Linked DNA regions of Homo sapiens: all the other regions are linked to region 1. The links are contacts of gene promoters, found by promoter capture Hi-C in human tissues and cell types (Jung and others, 2019). All regions are on one chromosome and are shown on one strand. The core of a region is centred on a gene start or on the middle of the fragment in contact, and the rest is flanking DNA. Distances in the headings are between cores, read along the strand shown. Region 1 holds the start of COL6A1 (collagen type VI alpha 1 chain). Region 2 has its middle 25 kb from the start of LINC00316. Region 3 overlaps PRMT2 (protein arginine methyltransferase 2). Region 4 has its middle 11 kb from the start of PRMT2. Region 5 holds the start of COL18A1 (collagen type XVIII alpha 1 chain).

Region 1 (4,533 bases), core at 892-3,391:
GCATTCTTGGTGTTTGCTTACACAACGTGTTCCTATTTCCTTTCCCAAATCTGCAAGCACTCCTTGCAGATAAAACAGCTCAGACTGGGAGAGGCCAAGAGAACACGGAGGTCCTGAAGCCCCCTGTGCTTGAGTCAGGAGCCCAGAGGCTGGTGCCACAGCTCCAAGCAGGCAGCACCAAACCTCAGCACCCACAGCCACAGTGTGGATGACATCAGTGGCAGGTAAATTGACTGTACAGTAAGTGTACAAGGCCAGGCACGGTGGCTCATGCCTGTAATCCCAGCACTTTCGGAGGCCGAGGCAGGAGGACCACTTGAGTCCAGGAGTTCGAGACCAGCCTGGGCAACATCGTGAGACCCCCATCTCTACAAAACATACAAAATTAGCTGGGTATGGTGGCACATGCCTGTGATCCCAGCTACTCGGGAGGCTGAGGTGGAGGGATCACCTGAACCCAGGAGACTGAGGCTGCAGTGAGCTGTGATGAGGCCACTACGTTCCAGCCTGGATGACAGAGTGAGCCCCTTAGATAATAATAATAATAATAAGGAGGAGGAGGAGGAGGAGGAGGAGGAAAAGAAGGAGAAGTACTTTACAACTTCTGTAACGTAGGTGTGGGGAAAATATTGAAGGCAATCCAAAAACAGTCACTGTGGAGTTGTGGAATTAAGTATCAATTTTAAAGGTTTTTTCAAATGTTTCTTTAACATGGTTTTTGGTATGAACAATTTGTGTACGTTTTAAAATTATAAGACATTTAGGCTGGTGTTAGGCAAGTCTCAGCAGCTCCAGCTTTGGGAAAGCTCTTCTGGGACCTTCTGTGGGCCAGGGATGCATCTGGCCACATCTGGAGCCCACCCCCAGGTGATATCAGGGACAGCCCCTCTCTCCTCTCTCTGTCTCTCTTTCTGTCTCTCTGTCTCTGTCTCTCTGTCTCTGTCTCTCCGTCTCTGTCTGTCTCTCCTCTCTGTCTCTCTCTGTCTCTGTCTCTCTGTCTCTGTCTTTGTCTCTCTCTGTCTCTCCTCTCTCTGTGTCTCTGTCTCTGTCTCTCTCTCTGTCTCTCTCTGTCTGTCTCTCTGTCTCTCTCTGTCTCTGTCTCTCTCTGTCTGTCTCTGTCTCTCCTCTGTCTCTCTGTGTCTGTCTCTCTGTCTCTGTCTTTCTGTCTCTCTCTCACTGTCTCTGTCTCTCTCTGTCTCTCTGTCTCTGTGTCTCTCTGTCTCTGTCTCTCACTGTCTCTCTCTCTGTCTCTGTCTCTCTGTCTCTCTGTCTCTCTGTGTCTCTCTGTCTCTGTCTCTCTGTCTCTGTCTCTCCTCTGTCTCTCTGTGTCTCTCTCTGTCTTTCTGTCTCTCTGTCTCTCTCTGTCTCTGTCTCTCTCTCTGTCTCTGTCTCTCCTCTGTCTGTGTCTCTGTCTGTCTCTCTGTCTCTGTCTCTCTGTCTCTCTCTCACTGTCTCTCTCTGTCTCTCTGTCTCTGTCTCTCTGTCTCCACACACAGCATATATAACAACTATATTGTGAGCAACTTTGTCTTCCCACGGTACAAACTGAAATATCTTTGGCAAATACGTATCCGACTATACTGTGAAGAAATATTGACGTGAAAAAAGAACGCGGAGATCTGATAAAGCAACAATTCAGCTCACGGCGAGGTCCTCTGCAGGAGGCGGTTGGTGGGAAGAGGCGAGTGAGCCTGCCCGTGCGTCCCGCATGGAGACGTCTGGATTGGAAACTACCGAAAGATGTTTCAAGGAACTCTCCCTGGGTGACACGCTGGTTTTCAGACGTTTGATTCAGCTGCTGCAGTTTCCTCCTCCCTGACACGGGAACTGAACTGCAGGCCGCGGCGAGCCAGCCAGGGAAACCGCCTTCTCCCTGGGCTCGGAGCTGCTGCCGGTTCTGGAGGGAGAGACCCCAGCAAGGAGGTGGTGACTCATGGGCCGCTCCTCCCCGCCCCGCCCCGCCCCTCCCCTCCCGCCCCGCCCCTCCCCTCCCGCCCCTCCCCTCTCCTCCCGCCCCTCCCCTCCCCTCCCCTCTCCTCCCGCCCCGCCCCTCCCCTCCCCTCCCGCCCCTCCCCTCCCCTCCCGCCCCTCTCGCCCCGCCCCTCCCCTCCTTGCCCTCCGCTCTCACTCTGGCTGGGAGCAGAAGGCAGCCTCGGTCTCTGGGCGGCGGCGGCGGCCCACTCTGCCCTGGCCGCGCTGTGTGGTGACCGCAGGCCCCAGACATGAGGGCGGCCCGTGCTCTGCTGCCCCTGCTGCTGCAGGCCTGCTGGACAGCCGCGCAGGATGAGCCGGAGACCCCGAGGGCCGTGGCCTTCCAGGGTGAGTGGTGGCTTGGGGTGCAGGCTCCAGACCCCCCGCTCTTTGCTGCCGGCCAGGGCCAGATGCGCGGGGTCCCCTCCCACGCGTGGAACTGCAGACTGGGGGCCTGGAGCCCCTGAACCCCACTCCCCGCTCGGGGCGGCTGCAGCGCCCAGCTCTGCCCCACCGGGCCTTGGCCGGGGCCCCTAGAGGCTCAGCATTCAGCATTCTCAGCGGGGCCGGACCGCAGGCAGCTCGGGAGGGGCTCCCTGGCGAGGGGGAGCTGGTGCGGGGCTGTCTCGGCGCCCCGTGAATCCGTTTGACCCCTCACCTGGCAGTGAGTCCAGACGCACGGCCCCCCCGACCCCCGTTCTAGAAGAAGTCGTGCGCTGCTGGTTCTGAATCCAGCGAGAAACCTTCCCGTGAGGTCTCACTTGTCCGGTCCCGTGCCGGGGACGCCCTGCCCTTCGGGGGAGGTTGTGAAGGTTTCTGACTCCCCTCGAGGCACAGGAGCGGTTTGGGGTCTCTCACTCCACCCCCTCCCCACCGTCCCCACCGAGGGACGTCCTGCTGCCTTTTCCCGGGAGAGCCTCTCCGGGCCCGGGGCTCTGTGCTGCAGGCGCTGGGCTGGCCGGGAGGGCAGGCCCAGCAGAGACTCGGGGAATGGGGCGAGAGCTTGAAGGCCCCTCTCCTCCATCTTCGGCCAGACTGCCCCGTGGACCTGTTCTTTGTGCTGGACACCTCTGAGAGCGTGGCCCTGAGGCTGAAGCCCTACGGGGCCCTCGTGGACAAAGTCAAGTCCTTCACCAAGCGCTTCATCGACAACCTGAGGGACAGGTAGGAGGGACGCCCCGTGACCTTCCTCCTGTGCTTCTGGGCCTCTTGGAGGGAGGGGTGGGGGCCCAGGGGAACACGGGTGCGACGGCCTCAACCTCCTAAGGTTGGGCGAGCGTTGCCCTGACCGGGGCCCCTCCCGGCGCCCTCCAGAGTGAGGCCGGGGCCCTTTCCGGCGCCCTCCAGAGTGAGCTGGTCTGAGCCTCTCCCAGCGCCTTCCAGAGTGAGCTGGTTTGAGACCCTGCTCGCGGGGGTGGCACCTGTTCAGCAGGGCCGAGGTGACAGTGAGGCTGAGATGTAGGGAAGAGAGGCTCCCGCAGGCTGACCGAGAGGGCTCAGCGCACTGGCCCAGACACGCAGTCCTGCCTGGTGCGCGGGAGCCCCTCACTAACCACCTGGACCCTGGTTTGTTCCGTGGGCAGTGAGAGCCTCTACCTGGGTCCTGGATCCCACGTTCTGAAGGTCCCCGACTCGGGAGCCAGGAGGGGTGTCGCTCTGCAGCCCCAGGGCCCCCAGGCTTGGTTCTGGGCTTGGGACACGGCACCCTCTGCTCCACGTTCCTCCATCTGTGCGTGTGGCTGAGGACAGACCGGGGGGAGAGGGGAGTCGGTCCTGTGGGTGCACAGGGCCGCTGAGGGGGGGGCATGTAGAACGGGGCTCCCCCACTGAGACGGGTCCTGGCAGTGGGGACACAGCTTAGCCGGCGTAGGAACCCCCGTCCTCCTTGACCCTGCTGACTGGCCGCTGGGCCGGAGCCTCCCGCCACCAGAAGGGGCACAGTCAGAGGCTGCCGGTAACAGCAGGGTGGACCTTCCAGCCCACACCGTGCCCAGCAGGAGCCATTGGTACCAGGAACCCTGAGCTTAGTGGACATGGCCAGGCCCGTGCGGCAGTGTTTGGGGGGGGGTCTGGCTGTGGATGGCACCGGGGAGGGGCGGCCGCGTGGCCCAGCGTCCCCCGAGTCGCCCTTGTTGCCTTTACTCAGTCTCCCCATGACTCAGTTTCCCACCTGTGAAATGGGGCGGAGTCATCCCCATGTCGCTGCCACTGGATTCCTGCAGGCGCCGTGGTCACTCTGCTGAATGGATGGGAGGGTGGGTGGGGCAGAGGTGGGCCCACCCCAGGCTGGGGCAGAGCAGACCCCTGAGAGCCTCAGGCTCAGGTGCTCAGAGGGCAGCGAGGGGGCTGCTCAGATCCCCGGGGTGCCTCCTTCCCCCACTGTCATGCTGCCCCACTGCAGGCCCAAGGACCCCACCCCAGCAGGGCCACACACTCAGGGCTCCTGGTCTGAGGGCCTGAGGGATCGGGGCGCAGGTCGCTTGCTGGCCACACCCGCCTGCACAGCCTTCCAGGAGGGCCGGCCTCAGGGCCACAGGGCAAGTCCAGCTGTGTGTCAGCCAC
Region 2 (4,533 bases), core at 897-3,396, 660 kb before region 1:
CTTCAAAATATACTACAAGGCCACAGTAACCAAAACAGCATGGTACTGGTACAAAAACAGACACATAGACCAATGGAACAGAATAGAGAACTCAGAAATAACACCATATGTCTACAACCATCTGGTCTTCGACAAGCCAAACAAAAACACGCAATGGGGAAAGGATTTCCTAGTTAATAAATGGTGCTGGGAGAACTGGCTAGCCATATGCAGAAAATTGAAACTGGACACCTTCCTTACACCTTATGCAAAAATTAACTCAAAGTGGATTAAAGCCTTAAATGTAAAACCCAAAACTATAAAAACCCTAGAAGAAAATCTAGGCAATGCCATTCAGGACATGGGCACAGGCAAAGATTTTATGATGAAAATGCCAAAAGCAATGGCAACAAAAGCAAAAACTGACAAATGGGATCTAAATAAACTAAAGAGCTTCTGCACAGCAAACGAAACTATCATTAGAGTGAACAGACAACCTACAGAATGGGAGAACATTTTTTGCAATCTGTTTGTCTGACAAAGGTTTAACACTTAGAATCTACAAGGAACTTAAGCAAATTTACAAGAGAAAAACAAACAACCCCATTAAAAAGTGCACAAAGGATATGAACAGACACTTCTCAAAAAAAGACATACATGCAGCCAACAAATGCATGAAAAAAGGCTTAACATCGCTGGTCATTAGAGAAATGCAAATCAAAACCACAATGAGTTCTCATGCCAGTCAGAATGGTAATTATGAAAAAGTCAGGAAACAGCACATGCTGGCAAGGCTGTGGAGAAATAGGAACACTTTTACACTGCCGGTGGGAATGTAAATTAGTTCAACCATTGTGGAAGACAGTGTGGTGATTCCTCCAAGATTGAGAACCAGAAATACCATTTGAGAAGCTATCCCATAACTGGGTATATACCCAAAGGAATATAAATTATTATAAAGATACATGCACACGTATGTTCACTGCAGCACTATTCACAATAGCAAAGACATGGAATCAACCCAAATGCCCATCAGTGATAGACTGGATAAAGAAAATGTGGTACATATAGACCATGGAATACTATGCAGCTATAAAAAGGAACGAGATCACGTCCTTTGCAGGGACATGGATGAAGCTGAAAGCCATTATCCTCTGCAAACTAACAAAGGAACAGAAAACCAAACACCGCATGTTCACTTATAAGTGGGAGCTGAACAATGAAAACATACGGACACAGGGTGGAGAACAACACACACCAGGTCCTGTTGGGGGAGGGTGGGGGTGGAGAGCATTAGGGAAAAGAGCTAATGTGTGCTGGGCTTCATACCTAGGTGATGGGTTGATAGGTGCGGCAAACCACCATGGGACATGTTTACCCATGTAACACACCTGCACATATACACCGGAACTTAAAAAGATATTAGAGGAGAACACGGACCTTAGAATAGCAACTCTCCCAAACAAAGACGCAGCCCCACGTGGAGCAGAGGAGGAGAAGATAAAGTGGACTGCAGCAGAAGCTAACACAACTTTATCACCAAAGACCCCAGAAACCAAGTCAGAAGGCCAGTGGTGGACATGGGAATGATAGATGCTAAAGAATGCTCAGCTTATAGTAGCCAGAGAAAATCCTGGCAAAGGTGGAAAGTGTGAAGGCACCAGGCATCAGTGGCACGCGAGTGTGATCTCCGGAGGCGGGGGAGGTGGGGGAGGCCGGGGCGTGAGGGGCTGTGGTTATCAAAGGGAACCGGCTCTCTTAGGGGGGCTCTTTTACTTTCTCTGTTACTCAGAGCAGGGACCAGCCAGCTCTGTCGAGGCCTGGAAAGTAATGGATTTAAGCTTTGCGGCCACATGGTCCGTGCACCCACTCTGCTCTGTCCATGTTTTTCTTTGTATTTTTCTCCAAGCATTTAAACACGTGCAAACCATCCTTAGCCCAAATGCAGCCAAAAGCTCCTGTGGGTGGAGTTTACTGTCTTACGCCCGGGAGCGGCTCAAAGTGTGCCCCAACCAGCAGCCTGGGCACCCTTGGTGCTGTAGGAATGCAGGTGCCCTGGCCCACCCGGACCCTGGTGTGGGGGGGGGGCCCACCCAGGCCTCTAAGAAGCCGTCTAAGGGTGCCGCCCAGGTCTTTGAGAAGGGCAGCCTTGGCCAAATGGTCATACCTGTACACGGGCCGGGCCGCACGACTTCTTTAGAGCTGGGGCCAATGGAAGCCCCCTGAGTGCTCCTCAACAGGGGCCTGGAACCCCGGCTCTTGTTAAAATGCAGATTCTGACTCAGCAGGTCTGGGCTGGAGCCTGGGACTCTGCATTTCTACCCAGCGCCCAGGGGTGCCCAGGCTGCTTCTGGGACCTCACTTCCTGGCCGTGGTACCTTCACAGCACCAGCCACTAGCGTGGAACTTGCACTGCAGCTTCCGACAGCTGCAGAAATGGGCATGTAGGTGGGGTGGGGGCTGGGACCTGAGCTTGTTGTCTGTCCCTCCCTTTCTCACTGGGGCATTGAGGACACACATGAAAGAGGCGAGGGGGCGAGAAACAATGCTGGCATCTCCATCCTGGGAAGAGGCTGGGAAGAGTGACTCAGTCACAAAAAATAAACAACACCAGCTTTTGTCTTAGAAATTCACCCTGTTTGACTTCATGGATTCCCATCGGTCTGCAAGGACCCGGGTTAGCCTGGGATCCTCTTCTGTGGCTTTGGTGAGCAGATCCCCACTCCGCCTCCTCTTAGGACGCCTAGTCCTGCCGTGATTGGCCTTGGGGGCCCGGGGGTGACCTCAAGTGTCCCCAGCCAGGCCGCCCACCCCAATCTCAAGAAGAAACAGGGTGGGAGGAAGCAGGGCAATCTCAGCACCCATGGCAGAGGAGGCCACGGTGGAGGAGGCCACGCCTGGCTCAGCCTGGAGTTGGGGACGTGAGGAGGGGCTGAGACGGTCACCCCAAGACCCCCACTTCAGGCCAGCTCAGAGGGTCCAGGGTGGGGGTACTTGGGAGAAGGCTTGTGAGGGGGTCCCTGTGGCCTTCAGGGAATCCCACCCCATTTGGATGTTACCTCCAGGCTGGTCCTAGGGGCTGGGCACCCACAGGCCAGAGGCCAAGGAACCAGGAAGTGCCCCCCGACATGCGCTTGGGGAGCCCCAAGCTCCTCCACTCATGAAAAATCGAACCCCCCCACCACCTCCAGGTCAGTCACCGTCTCCAGGACGTGGGTGGCTGCCCCCACTCCTCTGGCCCCCACTTCTCTGGCTGAGAAACTCCACGTGCACCACCCCAGGGGCTTCAGGCTCCTCCAGAGGGGCTCCATTCCCCTTCCTGCCCCGTCCCCTGATGTTCCTTCCCCACCAAGCCCTGGGCCATCTTCCCACAGCCTGGGACTAGCCTTCTGGTCACCTGCAGTGGCTGCCAGGTGGGCTGGGGTGGGGGCTGTCCCTGGGTGCCCAGGCCTCTCGGGGACCCCTGCATGCACTGGGCATGACATGGAGGGTGCCTTTCCCCACCCAGGGCCCAATGAACCTGGAGGTCACAGCCCCGACCCCGGCCCAGCTCCAGGGTGAGGCCGGGCCCCTCTGGAGCCCCACTCTGGCCTCCTCTCCTGCCCCCACCCCCATCCTGCCCCTTCCTGCCCTGGCCCTGTGTCTATCTGCTCTGCAGGCCGTGCTCTGGGAGCCTTGAGGCCCTGCGTCCACCCCCTGGCAGTTCTTCTAGGCTGGGCTCCAGGATTGGGGCCTGTTACCTGGAGGTGGACTGGCCTCCCTGCTGTCAGGCAGGGCCATTGGGATGGGCGTGGTCACAACTGCTGCAGACCTGGGTCTGGGAGGACAAGCGCCTTCCTTCCCAGCGGCGAGGTTTTCCATGACTCACTTCAGAGCCAGGCCAAGGTCAAAGGGCACCGGACGCCGGTCCCTCCTCAGGCAGAGGGAGACAGGAAGGGACACCCAGGCCCCAAGGGGGAAGGGCTGCTGCAGTCGGGACAGGGAGCATGTGTGAGCGTGAGTGAGGGCGTGAGGCCTGTGTGCAGGCAGCAGGTCAGGTGGACAGGCCGGAGGAATGGCCCTGACTCCACAGGGACCCCACCAGACAGCTGATTGGCAATGCCGAGAGATGCTGTGCTGCTGGTCCTTCCTGCAGGGTCGTGGAGGAGCTCGGCCACTTGTGAAGCTGGACGGGAGAGGACAGTGGTGGCAGCCAGACCGGACTCACATGTATTCCATCAACACAGTTGAAATGTTTTATGACCGCATGGCAGTATGTTCGGGTGAGGGTCCTGTATGTTTTACACGACACATGTTTAAACGGCATTCTGTGAGCCCAGAGGCTTTGCCTGCCGGCCAGCAAGGTGCAGTAGAAAAGGTTGAGGGTCCTAGTCTGGTCCCGTGTGGGCACTGCCTGACCAGGTGGGGTCAGCACCAGGATGAGAGCCCCAGCCTGCACCTGCCAGCCGCGGTGCCACGTCCTTCCTCCACTTCCCTTCCCGCAGCCCTGGGAAACCCCAGCCCAGTGGGCTGGCAGGAAGGAGGCCGGTGTGCATGTGCCTGACTGGCCCCTGG
Region 3 (4,533 bases), core at 1,094-3,593, 670 kb after region 1:
AGGCTGGGAAGGCATTGGCATTGGTGTCCAAGATGGCGCCTCATGGCTGTCCTCACGTGGTGAAGGCGGGAGGGCTGGGAGCACCTCTTTCACCACAAACCCTTTCATAGTAACCTCCAAAGGTGGCCTCTTAATGCCATCACACTGACGATTAAGTTTCAGTACATGGATTTTTGGAGACATTTCAGACCGTGGCATGATGGTGTGTGAAAGCTCATTTCCCTACCACAAATCAAAGTGAAAAAGGACTTTGATCTTAAAAGTTAAATATGGCATCTTTTAGTTTTGATTTCCATTTTTTAAGTAAGATTGATTATCTTTTATGTGTTTATGGGCCTTTTGTATTTTTTCTTTTTTTGTAAACTTTCATATTATTTGCCCCTTTTGATTTTTGTTGATTCGTGTGTTAAGTAATTTAGCCTGAATTTGTGAAGTTTTGTGACTTTGTGAAATTTTTTCCCACGTACAACTTTTTTCTTTGTATAGCCTAATATGGTTTTCTTTTCTTTGTGACTTCTTTTTCTTTTCTTTGTGAAAAACCTTCCTCACTATAAGATTATAAATACCCACACTTTTGTTTTCAGAACTGTTATGATTCTGTGTTATTTTATTTTTGTTTTTTATGTTTTTTAGAGATGGTGTCACACTCTGTCGTATGAGTGGCTGGAGTGCGGTGGTGCAGTCATAGTGCACTGTATCCTCAAACTCCTGGGTTTAAGGGACCTTCACCTTAGCTTCCCAAAGTACTGGGATTACAGGGGTGAGGCACCCTGCCTGGCCTTCTGATTCTATTTTAAACAATGAGATTTTAAATAATAAAAAATCTAGAAATTATTTGTTGTAAAAAATATAATGTAAAATTCCGCCCTAATGTATGCCCACAAATCTCCAGCGACCCCAGCCTCAGTTACTGGACAGTTCCCTTCGCGTTGATGTGAAACGGTGCGTTTGTCCTGCTCTGGATTTCAGGGGTCTGCTGTAGAATTCCTGTTGTTTCACTGGTCTGTTTACTGCAGTTCCCAGTGCTTCGTCATTTCCATCACTGCACCTTTGTAGGATCTGCAAGAGCTAGGTCTCCAGCAGTTCTTTTTTTTTTAAAGCATTTTCCTCATTAGCCTTGGGCACTTACTGTTTTGAAACTAATTTTATTATCATTTTGTTGTGCTTTCTCCTTTAGTAGGTACTGCATGGAATGTTTATGTTAATTTTGGGAGAGCTGACATCTTTATAACATTGACTCTCAGTCTCTGATTACTTAAGCTTTGTTTAATATCTCTTAGTATTTTAAGATAAGGACAATATCTCTTTGTCATACATGGTTGTGCACCTTTCTTGTTAAATTTGTTCCTAGGTATTTTTTGTGTATTATTACTGTTATAAGGGGGTGGGTGAAGTGTTCTCTAAATACCAATGAGATTAACTTGGTTGACAGTGATGTCCAGGCCTTCCATAGTCTTCCATAGGGGTGTTGGGGTCAGGGGTCATCAGCTGTGGCTCTGACCCTCCATCTCAGTCCAGACCTCAGCATGGCTCTAGGTCACAGGCAGTGATTCTGAATGTGCATTTCTTCCAGAAACTCCACTTGGAGATGTTGGCAGACCAGCCACGAACAACTAAATACCACAGTGTCATCCTGCAGAATAAAGAATCCCTGACGGATAAAGTCATCCTGGACGTGGGCTGTGGGACTGGGATCATCAGTCTCTTCTGTGCACACTATGCGCGGCCTAGAGCGGTGAGTGGGGTCTCGAGCGCATCCCGGGTGTTTGTGCCGAGGCTGGTGACGTCCGAGGTGGCCTCTGAGTGTGCTGACTTGTGACCCTGAGCTGTTGGGGGCTCACCGGTGACTCCATGGTCTTGTTGAGCACCCTGCACGTGGGGCTCAGGGTCGGTAAAATAGCAGTGCGTGGAGACCGCGTGCTAGAGGCCGTGGCGCCCGCGTACAATGAGTCGCAGACAGCACAGACGGGAGTAGGGCAGAATAGACAATATCCCGTGAATTGCGTGGGGCGGGGTATGTTCTGTGAGACGTTTATTTCAGTTGAGTAGAGAAACACGTGCACCCACATGTCTGTGCTGGGCCTTGGGTGTGGTTGGTCTCATGGGGTTGGGAGGGATGCACACGCTGGGCCCCCTCCCCACCCCTCTTAGGCCGTCTATACTGTGCTGAGCTGAGCCGAGCTGCAGCCTTGGAGACTCCTTACACAGTGGGTGGGGTCGCAGCACAGTGTCCACCCAAGTCCAGGCTCTGCAGGACCCAGGACCCAGCGCTTGGGTGCTTCCCACCAGACCCTTCCCTGAGAACCTGGGTTTGAAATTGTCTGACAGGCCTCAGATGTGGCACAGACCAGCATTGTCACTTGGGTGCTAAGAAGTTGCTGTGCTGGTCATGGATTAAGATTGCTGTGCGTGTGGCAGCCGGCTCGGGCATGCGAGTCTTCCATCCACTTGCAGCCCTGCGTCTGTGTCTTGTCCGGGAGGTGGGGGCAGTTGGGAGGGTTAGAGGCGGCTCCTTTCTGGGTGCCCCTGGAGGGGCAGGTGTGGCCAGTCCTCGCTGCCTCTGCTGTCTGGAATGCTGCTTCCCTCTTGTGTCATTGACCATTTCTCGTGATGCTGGTTGTGACTCAGGAGAGTAGATGACGGGCCGTGTGCCGGCCGGATGTACGCTGACGGTGCCTCTGCTGCTGCAGGTGTACGCGGTGGAGGCCAGTGAGATGGCACAGCACACGGGGCAGCTGGTCCTGCAGAACGGCTTTGCTGACATCATCACCGTGTACCAGCAGAAGGTGGAGGATGTGGTGCTGCCCGAGAAGGTGGACGTGCTGGTGTCTGAGTGGATGGGGACCTGCCTGCTGGTGAGGGCGGGCGTGCGGGCAGCTGGGGGCCGGAGCTGGGGGGCTTCTGAGCACGGGCTCGGCTGGGCCAACCTCAGGATCTCAAGGGTCGTGCGTGATTCATTTTGATGTTTTCCCTAATGTGAGGTCTAATTAATTTCTTGTGTGGACATTGGCTCAGTGTCTTGAATTTTCACCTGATTTAAAAAATGCCTTTATGAGAAATTTAAGTCAAAGTTCATGTAACATTTTCATGAGTGATTTACATGAACTGTGTTCTCCTCGGGGATCTGTAAAAATCCTGTGCCTAACAGGTAAGGCTGTTTCTTTAATGCCAGTAGGGCCTTCGTCCCTGGCCAGGGTCTCCTCGCCTTAGACTGGCCCCAGTGATGCTGTGAAGCCACTTGGGCATCTGTAGGGCCAGCATATGCCTGTCCTGTCAGGGTTGCTCACCCTGAGTTTCACATGTGGGTGGAAGTGGACTGTTTTCTGGTTGCCTGTGAATATGCCCTGCACAAACGCTGTCTGCTTGGAGGGAAGTTGACGGGAGTGTGGCTGGATGCTGTCTGCCCGCGCTGTCTTCCTGGGCTCAGCATCCTGGGACACAGGACATTGTAGTGGAGCATCCCAACCTGAAACTTTGTCTCAGTGTAGAGACCCAGAAAGATGGGGTCTGGGTGAAGGAGTGTGGAGTATGGCTGCTGCTTTCCAGGAAACGGTTTCCCCTGGTAACAGATGGCATTGGGCTTTTAGTCCTGTTGAAATTTTGTTGTCAGAAGATAAATGTAAATAGACTCAATGTCCATGCTGTGACTTGGCTTATTAATAACATCTGTGGAGCCATAAGATGACACACAGGAGAAACGGGCTCCACTCCTACCCCCTGAAGGGGCATTTGCCTTTGCCCTGAACAGCAGCGCCCATTCAATAAGTATCTGTTGACAGCTGGTGCCCCGGCCACGGGGACAAAAAGAGGACAGAGCAGGAGTGAGGCTGTGGTGAGGCCAAGGTTGTGTGGGCGGTGATACGGGGAAGCCTGGCTGCTGGAGTGTCCGGCTGTGCCCTGGATTGGGTGAGAGGGACACAGGAGGGACGTGGGGCAGAGGGAGGGGAGAGGAGTAGCCACTGTGTTCACCGTGTTGCCGTGTTCCAGGGCTGCCCAGTGGCCGGATTGGCCAGACTGTGTTGCATCAGGGAGGCAGAGGCCAGATGTAGGGAACTGTGTGTCTGAGGACTTTGTGCCACGTCCTGGACACCGAAGGGAGTGCCACTGGTGTGTGAGTGATGGAGTAAGAGGTGGGCTGTGTTTTGGAGGCCCCTGGGTATGTGTGGCCGGGACTGGAGGCCAGGGACTGGCTGTGGTCCAGCCCCAGCATGCAGAGAGGCCTGGGACATTCTGTGTGAGGGGAGGCCCCTCTGTGTGGGAGGTGCACAGACTTCCAGGACTGACCATGGCTTTATTGTCAGGATGCAGGAGCCAGGGCTTGGCATGGGGCAGGTGTGGGGGATGCAGAGCAGGGCCAGCAGGCAGGATGTGCTGATGGGGGCCTGGCGTGAGCAGGACGGTGCCTCCCAGCCCTGAGCCGCAGGGAGTGGGCCACCAGGACTGGCTGGGGGCCGGGGTAGGGAGGGCCCTGGGGAGGGTGGACATCTGTGTGGGTCTTGAACATAGGATGCCCATCCGATGTGCAGGGCCAGC
Region 4 (4,533 bases), core at 1-2,500, 640 kb after region 1:
TCTTGCTCAGGAACTGAGTCTTGGTGAAATATAAGAGGAAGTGTTTGAACTGATGCTGGGGCAAGATCTCAAAAGGAAAACTGAGTTTTCCCTTTTGTAGAACTCTGTCACAGATATTTATTTTGATTATGCTTTTTATAACTTTTAAGGATTCTTGGAAATTTGCAATAAAATCATGTCAGGTTTAAATGTTTAAAAAATCATAGGATTAGCCTATTTGTTTTTTCACTCAACAGGAGTGTTTTTCATTTGACGACTTCAGAAGATCCCACGTCTTACAGCCCGTCCCTTCCTGTAGGACGCTGTGGGCCAGGACAGCACAGTACTCGGCCACATGCCCAAATGAGCAGCCACAAAAGTCTAATCAATCGATTGTTCAAACTGCTTAACTCACATCTGTAATCCCAGCACTTTGGAAGGCTGAGGCGGGCGGATCACTTGAGGTCAGGAGTTTGAGACCAGCCTGGGCAACATTGTGAAACCCTGTCTCTACTAAAAATACAAAAATTAGCCAGGTGTGGTGGCGCATGCTTGTAGTCCCAGCTACTTGGGAGGCTGAGGCAGGAGGATCCCTTGAACTCGGGATATGGAGGTTGCAGTGAGCAGAGATCCTGCTACTGCACTCCAGCCTGGGTCACAGAGATTCTGTCTCAAAAAAACAAAGAAAAACAAACAAACAAACTCTACTTAACAAGTGAGGATGCTCACGCCTTGACTGTAAAAATGCCTGCGTGGAATTGAACCACCTCGACAGCAACGACCCAGGAGGTGGAAATGAGTTGTTTTATTTTAGAGATTTAAATAAAGAACATACCAAACGTATGAGAGAAGAGGAAAGCTGAGAACCTAAAATCTGGACGCTCGGTTGGGCACAGTGGCTCACGCCTGTAATCCTAGCACTTTGGGAGGCCGAGGTGGGCAGATCACCTGAGGTTAGGAGTTCAAGACCAGCCTGGCCAACACGGTAAAACCCCATCTCTACTAAAAATACAAAAAAAATTAGCCAGGTGCCTGTAATCCCAGCTGCTGGAGAGGCTAAGGCAGGAGAATTGCTTGAACCCAGGAGGCAGAGGTTGCAGTGAGCTGAGACTGCACCATTGCACTCCAGCCTGGGCAACAAGAATGAAACTCCGTCTAAATATATAAATATAATTTTAAAAAATCTGGAAGCTCAATCCCTAGCAGTTTTGCTACTGCAGAACAATAACCTCTTTTGCTTTTGAAAAACAAACTTCAAGTTAAAAACACTGTGAATAACCTGGCACTATATTTCAATTTTTAGTGTAACTGGAATACATCCACAGGTATATTTAGCATCTAGTAGTTCTATTGAGTGCTAATGTAAATAAAATTTAAATCATAGGAGGAATAAACTATTTTTGGAATTAAAACTTAAGACAGACTCCATAATAAAATCAAATAATTTGATGTAATTCCTGTAACATATGTACTAACATTAAGTTCAACATTTAAAATTAATTATCTGTTATTGTGTATTAATTTAGAAAATTAATTGCAATCTTCTGAACTCTGCCTTTGGGGCTCCCTGGAACGAGGCCCAGGGGCCGTGTTTGCCTGAGTCGCATGCATGCACCTCCCTTCCCCAGGCGAGGCCCACTTGGCTGCGCGCCTCCCCACAGCGGGGACCATGAGATGCAGAGGCAGACAAGGACAGCGTCTTGGTGATCACAACTTTTAAAACGAAAAACTCAGATGCCCAGGATGAGAGAGCGCACACCCCGTGCTGATGCCCCACCCTGAACTTGCTGCTGCTGTGATGATGGCCACAGAAGGACAGCTGTTCACGGAGCCCTGGCCGAGCTCGCTCTGTCCTCAGCCTGTGCGGCTGGCCAGGTCCCTTGGCCGTAGGAAGGCTCCAGAGGCCTCTTTGGGTAGGAGAGTGTGGGGGATGGGTCAGTTGCTCAGCACACCAAGGAGCCAGGCCTCACAGGGACTCTTTTAGGGTCCCTAGATTTTGCAACTCAAGTGACAACCACTCCTGCCCCTGGAGTGTTGATTTGTGTGCTCCAATGCCCCCCAACATGTTGGCCGTCAGGTGCCCTGCCAGGCCCTGCGTGTTCAGTGTGCTCTGGTTCCTGGGAGGAAGGTAAGACACTGAGTTCTGAACTCTGGAGGTGGAAGGGGGCTCCTTGGACAGTCACCTGATTAAGCACAGCCCTGACCCCATCCTGGTCACAGGGGTGTGAGTCTCCAAGGACAGGGCTCCAGAGCACCGTGTGATAAGTCACATGCAAAGGAAACCTGGGCAATGGCATAAATGAGGACCTCCCCTTAGCAGGGAAAGGAGCTTAGCAGCCTTCGGAGCCTCAGCCTGCATAGGAAACGCATGTTTCTCCATCATGATGGGGGAAACTGAGGCTCAGGTTGTATCACTCAGTGTCAAAGCCAGGATTTGAACCTGGGCCTGCCTCCAGAGTCCAAGTCCCAACCACATGAAATGCTGCTGTCGTGGATCGGAGCAGGAGGAAATGCCCTGCTCTGACTCAAGGAGGTGCTTGGACTCTGCTTGTTTTTGTTTTTGAAACAGAGTCTTGCTCTATTGTCCAGACTGGAGTGCAGTGGTGCAATCTCAGCTCACTGCAGCCTCCTTCTCTAGGGTTCAAGTGATTCTTGTAACTCATCTCCTGAGTAGCTGGGATTACAGACATGCACCGCCACGCCTGGCTAATTTTTGTAATTTTAGTAGAGATGGGGTTTCACCATGTTGGCCAGGCTGCTCGAACTCCTGGCCTCAAGCGATCCACTTGCCTTAGCCTTCCAAAATGTTGGGATTACAGGCATGAGCCACCATGCCCAGCCAGACTCCACTTCCTGATGAAATGGCAAGAGAAGAGCATGTGGGGAGGATTGCAGACCTTGCTATGACCAACTTTGGAAAACACATTCTGCCCTCTGGCTGCACCCCCTACACATGCAAAATAGACTCACCCAGACACCCATGGTCTCGTGCCATTATGGCAGCCAGAGCTCCAGGTCTCACCACTTAACCATCTCCATGCGGGGTGAGGCTCCATGGGCACGGCTCCTCAGGCACAGCCTCTTCGATGTGTTTCCTTTTCAATCCACAGACTTGTGACCTCAAGAGCCAAGCACCTGGCCCAACCTCTTCACCCTATGTCTAATGGGGATGGGGATAGGACAGACACCTTGGCCCCTGCCACTCAGAAGGGGGAAACTGAGGCAAAAAGCAGGCAGTCTGCAGAGATTCTGAAATCCAACCTGACCCAGGTCAACAGGTCTGTGATTAGGGTGCAGTGTTGCTACAGGGACTGATTCTCTAGGCACCTGAGAAGAAAATAAAAGCCAGCTTGGATTAAAAGAACCAGATAGTACAAAATGAAAGGAGGCCAGTGGGCCCCTGAATTTCTACAGGCTAAGAAGACTGCTTAACCACAAACACAGGCTGCTTTTATTTTTCTAGTACAATTCCTTTAATAACTTTGTGGGTTTTCTATAAATTTTATTGATGTTCACTCCATTAGACAAAACCTGCACCGCAGATCTCTTTTAAATAGACCATTTTCTATTCAGGGCTCCCTGTGAGGCTGTTGTGGAACAATGCTGTTAAGATTCCCAGAAGGTCTCCTTAATAGGGGCCTGGGAGGCACATGTGTACCATCCCTGGGAGGCCCTTTGCCTCTGAAAAGGCTGGTGAGACACCAGTTGAACTCTTTCTGCATCTTAATGGAGGGTTTTATAATCCCACTCTTGGCTTCATGTCTGCTCTGAACCCACATATTCCCTACAGGGCTGTGGGTCCCAACTTTGCCCTGAGCCCTCTCATTCTTTGAGAATCTTCTGCTGGGAGAAACTGGGGATGAAAATTAGTTTCATTTTTGAGCCCAGCAAATCCTGGCTCCTTCATGTCTTTATAAGTTCTGTTTGAAAACCCCATCATTCCTTCTCCAGTGCCTCTCTCCCTAATCATTTCTCATGATGTGCAGGTGAAAGAAGCCAGTCATTCAATGACAAGAGCCTTCTTTCCTTCACTTCCAGAACATTTCCTTGCTTTTCCTCAGTCCCTTGCCAGCTGCCTTCTCATGCCTGCCAGCCTCCTCTCTGGGGCTGAGTCCCACAGCCAACCCGCAATGTTTTTTGGCTTTTGTCATGGTAGCATCCCACTTCAAAGTACCTGATTCTGTTCTGGTTACTATTGCTGCATAAGAAACCACCATCTAATAGCGTAAAAGCATCAGCTGTTTTATTTTTCTCCCAGGGCATGATCGGTTGGCACAGGGTGCTGGTGTGGCTCAGTGTCTAGGACCTCAGCTGGGGAGACAGAACAGCTGTGGCTCTGCGGCTGCGGTAGAACCATCCCGAGGTCACGTAGCACCAGGTAGGAGAGAACATGAAGGCTGGGCTCACCTGGAGCTGACATTTGCAGCACTGTTCATGGTGTCTCTGAGAGGCTGGGTTCTGAGGAGTGTCCCAAGAGCCTGCATTCCTAGAGGACTGAGAGAGCTGCATGGCCTTTCCTGAGCTGCCTCGGGAGCCACTGCAGGCCTCGCGACC
Region 5 (4,533 bases), core at 894-3,393, 580 kb before region 1:
ACAATACAACTCTAATAGAAAGAGGGGATGCTACAGAGCCTATGGGGACACAGCCATGAGGCCAAGGTAAGGCCCCAAGTGAAACGAATGAGCAAAAAGAGTTCGTACAGCTACCAGGTAAGCAGTCACATGTGTTTCATAGTAGCTGTGTCTCCTACTGATCACACCCCCATAGTCCCCAAAGGTGGAGAGTGGGGCAGGAGAGAGGTAGGCCAACTCAGGCCACAGGTGGGCTGGCACCCGCCCTGCCCCAGCCCCTCCCTCCTGGGAGCCGCAGACAGGCCCCCAGGGCAGTGCATCAGGCCACACCTGCAGAGACCTGCTTCCCCTGGCAGCAGGCACCTGCCCTGACGGAAGACTTAGGAATGGGTTGGGTTGGGTGGAAGTGGTGCCCCAGGGCAGGTGAGATGGAAGAGGTGAAAGAGACCTGCACTGCAGGGTTAATGGACAGGGGCCAGACAGACCAGGAGCCTCGGGAGGAGAAGCCACCAGGACCCAGGACACATGAACACCCCTGACACACACTCACACGCACACAGGCTGACACACATGCACACACTGTACATAGTTACAGAAACACACACATGCACACACACAGCACAGAGAGACATGCACACACATGCACACAAGGTACGGTCACAGACACACACACAGCAGACACACAGACACACCCACTGCACTGCAGAGACACCACCAAACCCTGATAGACACACACAGACTCACTCCTCCATCCACCTGAGAAACAAAAGTTTTGCAGAAGTGTGCGATGACCACTTCTACTCTATGCTGTTCTCCTTAATCTTTTTATTTTTAAAAAATGTGGGTCATAATCCTTTACATTGATTTCCTTCCTCACAGTGCACCGCAAGCACTCAGGGAAGGACTCCAGGTTTGAAGGCAGATGCTGGTCGGGACCCGACCAGGTGGCTGGGCGGGAAGAGGTGAGATCGGGCAGGATTGGGCCTGGGAAGGCTGAGGCAGGCAGGGATGATGCCAGCAGAGGAGAATCCCAAGCAGGCCCCGCGGCTGCGGCTGGAGAGCTCCAGGGGCGGAGAGGAGGTGGGAGGCAGCAGTCAGGTTGGGAGGACCCTGGCAAGCAAGCCCAGAGAGGAGGGCCGGGAGGGCCGGGCACTAGAAGTGTGAAGTCACTGCTGCCTCCTGGGGCTGCTTCAGAGGATGGGTGGGGCCACGTGTGGGGAGATCAGGGAGACTGGAGACTACGCTGTTTGGTCCAGGCATAGGAGATGAGCCCTGGCCGGGAAGGGACAGTGTGGATGGGCCAGGCGGAATCAGAGGGTTTCAGAGAAAGCCGTCAAGCCAGTGCCATGAGTTTCGCGCACACGAGGAGGGAGCAGGCTGGGGGGTGTTGCTGGTGTGAGGGCTCTCTGGTTGCAGGGAGCGGTCCGGTCGGGTGGGGGCACAGCTGCCAGGAGGAAAGCGCCCAGGGCCTGCAGGTGGGGCTCAGGATGCTGGCCCTGAAGAAATAGAAACAGGGTTTTCACCTGGGAGGGAGGAGGAGCCTGGGAACTGGGGAGGAAGAGGCTCTGCTGGGCCGCGCCCTGGGAACAGGGGGACCTGGGGACAGATCTGGCCCTCGCACGCCCCTCCTGTCTCGCGTCCGTCCCTCCGTGCAGCCGGGGCAGGACCCTGCAGGGGCCTTGCGGGCCGGAGGTGCCGGCTTCCTCCTCCGTCCCGTCCCCCCCGCGGTGACTCTATTCAAATCTCCCCCCTTCCCGCTGCCCCACCGGACTCAGGGGCTGGGGTCGTAGCCCGGCGGGCAGCGGTGTTCACCTTCCGCATAAACCTGGGCTTCCTCGCGGGGCAGCCCCCGGGCCCTGTGCTGGGTCGCAGCCTCGGGCGGTTCCCTCGGGGCGGGACGTGTCCCCGTCCGTCCTCGCCCGTCCCCGCCGCCCCCGGGTCCCGGCCCGCCCCGTCCTCGCAGCCGCAGGTCCGCTGCGGCGCCCGCCCCCCTCTCCCCTCCCCGGGCCTTGCCCTGCTCGTCGCTCCGCCCCCTGCCCGGCCCCTGCCCGGCCCCGCCCCGCGCCCGCCCCCTGCCCGCGCCCGCCCCGCCCCCTGCCCGGCCCCTGCCCGGCCCCTGCCCGCCCCCTGCCCGGCCTCCCAGCGGCGGCGGCTGCAGCGCGGCGGTCCGAGCGGGTGCACCGCGGCGGAGGAGGCAGCATCCCGCGGCGCTGACGGTCCTGGGGAGAGCATGGCGCCGAGGTGAGGCCGGGGCTGCGGGCAGGGGTTGGGGGACGCCAAGATGCGGCTGCGGGGGTCGCGGGGGTCGCGGGGCTCGGCCGGGTCCTGCGGGGGTCGCGGGGGTCCTGCGGGGTCTGACCCGTGCCTGTCCCGCGCAGGTGCCCCTGGCCATGGCCGCGGCGGCGGCGCCTCCTGGACGTGCTCGCGCCCCTGGTCCTGCTGCTCGGGGTCCGCGCGGCCTCCGCGGAGCCAGGTAAGACCCGGGCGGGACGGGAAGGTTCGCGCCGGTGCCCGCCGGCCTCGCCGCCCTGGCTGGGGTCCCCGCCCGGCTCCCTCACCCCCGCCCCGGCCGCTCTGGGTTCAGCCCCGGCCCTGCCCACGCGCGCAGGAGGCGCCGGAGCCGGACGGAGCGGGGCGGGGTGGCCGGAGTCCCGCCCATTCATTCTCCCCGCGGGGTCCGGGCCGGGAGGGGTGCGCGGTGCGAGCGGCCGGAGTCCCCGCGCGGGGACCGAACCTCCGCGGCCGGCGGGGTCGTCGGTGCCGGGAGGGCTCGGGGCGGGGCCGCGGGGTCTCGGGAGACGCGGCCTCTGTCGCCGTCACGGCCTCGTCCCCGCAGCGCCGGGTCCCGGGACTGACCGCGGGCGGAAGGCGGCGGAGCGCGGGGCGTCGTCTCCGCGTTTCCAACCTGTTGAGGCTCCTCGCCGCGGGCCGGGCCTTGTGCGCCTCTGTCCCCGCCGCCCTCAGGCCTCTGTCCCCGCGCCCGCCGTGGTGTCGGGTTGCGCGGTCCCCTTTGATGCCAACCGAGCGCCGCGCGGTCCGAGAACAATGCCCAGAAGCCGCTGCCCCGCCGGCCTCGCCGCTTCCCGTGCGCGGCAAACGGTGCGCGGGGCCCGTGGGGACCTTCCTGCCTCCAACCCCGGGACCCAGTTCCCCACCACCTGCTAACCGGGGCCTCCTGCCTCCAGCCAGCCCAGCAGAGGCCCGGGGGAGGCGGCGGGGACGCGGACCCCAGGGGAGCCCCGCCCAAAGGGCCTGGGTGCCTTGTCGCGGGTGGAATCCCACCCGGGGGTCCACGCAGCCAGCGCCTGCCTCCGACTCGACTCCACACCTGCTTGCTACAGCGGGTGAGGAAGCAGGAAAGGGGGAGGGAGGGATGTCGTCTGGATTCCTGTAATAATTTGTTTCATTGTTTCCAATCGACTTAGTCACCAGGTTAAATAGTAGCATAGACCTTTCAAAAAAGTAGCTAGCTTATAAGTAGATGTATTGAAAACACCTGCTTGTTGAGTCGTAGACAATTCCTCATTTACTGTGTGAACTCTAGGGGGTGAAACACGGGCGGAGAGCGGCTGTGAGCTCACGCGGCTCCATCCCCACAGCGGCCCAGGGTCACTCGGGGCCATTAATCAGGCCGCAGAGCTGCCCTCTGAGCCGGGCCGCCAGCGCCCACAGGGCCCAGACCAGGGCTCCCTGGGCGGGATGTTTTAAATCGCACAGGGACAAAGGAAAGGAAAGACGCTGGGGCCCAAGCCCGAGCTTATGAAACGTTATCAAGGAGGAGATGTAAAAGGTGATGGTTTTTTTGCCTTTGAATAGAAAAAACAAAAACTGTTAACGCGAGCTTTGGTGAGATGCAATCTTGAGATCTAAGAGTGGGGTGTAAAGTCAGTGCAGGCCTCAGCAGGGAAAGTTACGGTTGGCCAAATGGGCTGTGCGTTCCTCTTCTGTCCCGGGCCTGCCCCAGCCTCAAGCACTCTGGGGCAGGAAGGCCCCTTGGAGGTGTCTAATGGAATGTGGAAGGCGGGTGGCCAGGAGGCTGAAGCGGAAGCAGGCCCAGAGAGGGGTCTGCATGCTGCCCACACACCCCTCCCCCAGCCCGGAGAGAACTCAGGCTCCAGGCCACCCGCAGCCCGGGTTCCAGTCCTTGCAGGACCAAGTCCCCCTGAAATGGGAAAACAGTCGCCCCCTTTAGGGGTTATTGGAGAAGAGCTAATGTGTCTGAAATGCTGACTCTGGCGAGGGTTTCAGTTGTTCTCAAAACTTAAAAAGCACCCTTGAGAGTTGAAGGCCTGAGGCCCAGTTTGCTGATTTGCACATTTTTTTCTGGCCAAGAATGATGCATCTTTCCATGTCTCTGTGCTACACTTGATCCCTAGAAAAGTCTTTTGCTTTTTTGTGTCAGGATTGGTCGCTGTGATGCTGAGGTTCTTGAATGGTGTTTGTGCCTTTCCCTGTAATCAGGAACCTGGGCTCAGTGGTCACTTGGCCGCTTGGTTGCCACCCAGCTGTGTGAGGTGCCGCAGTCTTACCTGCAATCTCTCCTCTGGTGGATTT

What was found. Contacts are between HindIII fragments. The study calls those that stand out against the background at their distance.
Region 2: a fragment that was not itself captured here is called in contact with the fragment with the promoter of COL6A1 in region 1 in 2 of the 25 tissues and cell types used here (lymphoblastoid cells and thymus).
Region 3: a contact is called between a fragment that was not itself captured here and the fragment with the promoter of COL6A1 in region 1, in 1 of the 25 tissues and cell types used here (lymphoblastoid cells).
Region 4: a fragment that was not itself captured here is called in contact with the fragment with the promoter of COL6A1 in region 1 in 1 of the 25 tissues and cell types used here (lymphoblastoid cells).
Region 5: a contact is called between the fragment with the promoter of COL18A1 here and the fragment with the promoter of COL6A1 in region 1, in 2 of the 25 tissues and cell types used here (H1 embryonic stem cells and stomach).

What each region holds. Positions count from the first base shown.
Region 1 is chr21:45,979,629-45,984,161 of GRCh38, forward strand. It overlaps COL6A1 (collagen type VI alpha 1 chain), which reads left to right and starts at 2,142. Exons shown (of 35, transcript NM_001848.3): 1 at 2,142-2,319; 2 at 3,006-3,135. The coding sequence starts at 2,223. It overlaps LOC105372841 (a long non-coding RNA gene), which reads left to right. Exons shown (of 3, transcript XR_937803.3): 2 at 1-224; 3 at 1,662-1,938. RefSeq lists enhancers at 1,900-2,762, 2,763-3,623. The HindIII fragment of the contact is 42,283 bases long and covers 1-4,533 here.
Region 2 is chr21:45,315,159-45,319,691 of GRCh38, forward strand. No RefSeq gene overlaps it. Among named protein-coding and RNA genes, the nearest start is that of LINC00316, 25 kb to the right of the region's middle. RefSeq lists enhancers at 3,366-4,209, 4,210-4,533. The HindIII fragment of the contact is 7,844 bases long and covers 1-4,533 here.
Region 3 is chr21:46,646,885-46,651,417 of GRCh38, forward strand. It overlaps PRMT2 (protein arginine methyltransferase 2), which reads left to right. Exons shown (of 12, transcript NM_206962.4): 6 at 1,574-1,735; 7 at 2,691-2,855. Among named protein-coding and RNA genes, the nearest start is that of PRMT2, 13 kb to the left of the region's middle. The HindIII fragment of the contact is 3,449 bases long and covers 620-4,068 here.
Region 4 is chr21:46,622,527-46,627,059 of GRCh38, forward strand. No RefSeq gene overlaps it. Among named protein-coding and RNA genes, the nearest start is that of PRMT2, 11 kb to the right of the region's middle. RefSeq lists an enhancer at 1,861-2,361. The HindIII fragment of the contact is 7,233 bases long and covers 1-4,533 here.
Region 5 is chr21:45,403,022-45,407,554 of GRCh38, forward strand. COL18A1 (collagen type XVIII alpha 1 chain) reads left to right here and starts at 2,144. Exons shown (of 42, transcript NM_001379500.1): 1 at 2,144-2,220; 2 at 2,358-2,452. The coding sequence starts at 2,210. It overlaps BNAT1 (breast cancer associated ESR1 regulating natural antisense transcript 1), which reads right to left and starts at 3,341. Exons shown (of 2, transcript NR_183526.1): 1 at 3,146-3,341; 2 at 785-1,475. COL18A1-AS2 (COL18A1 antisense RNA 2) reads right to left here. Exons shown (of 4, transcript NR_052004.1): 4 at 4,365-4,533. RefSeq lists an enhancer at 1,299-1,999. The HindIII fragment of the contact is 38,297 bases long and covers 1-4,533 here.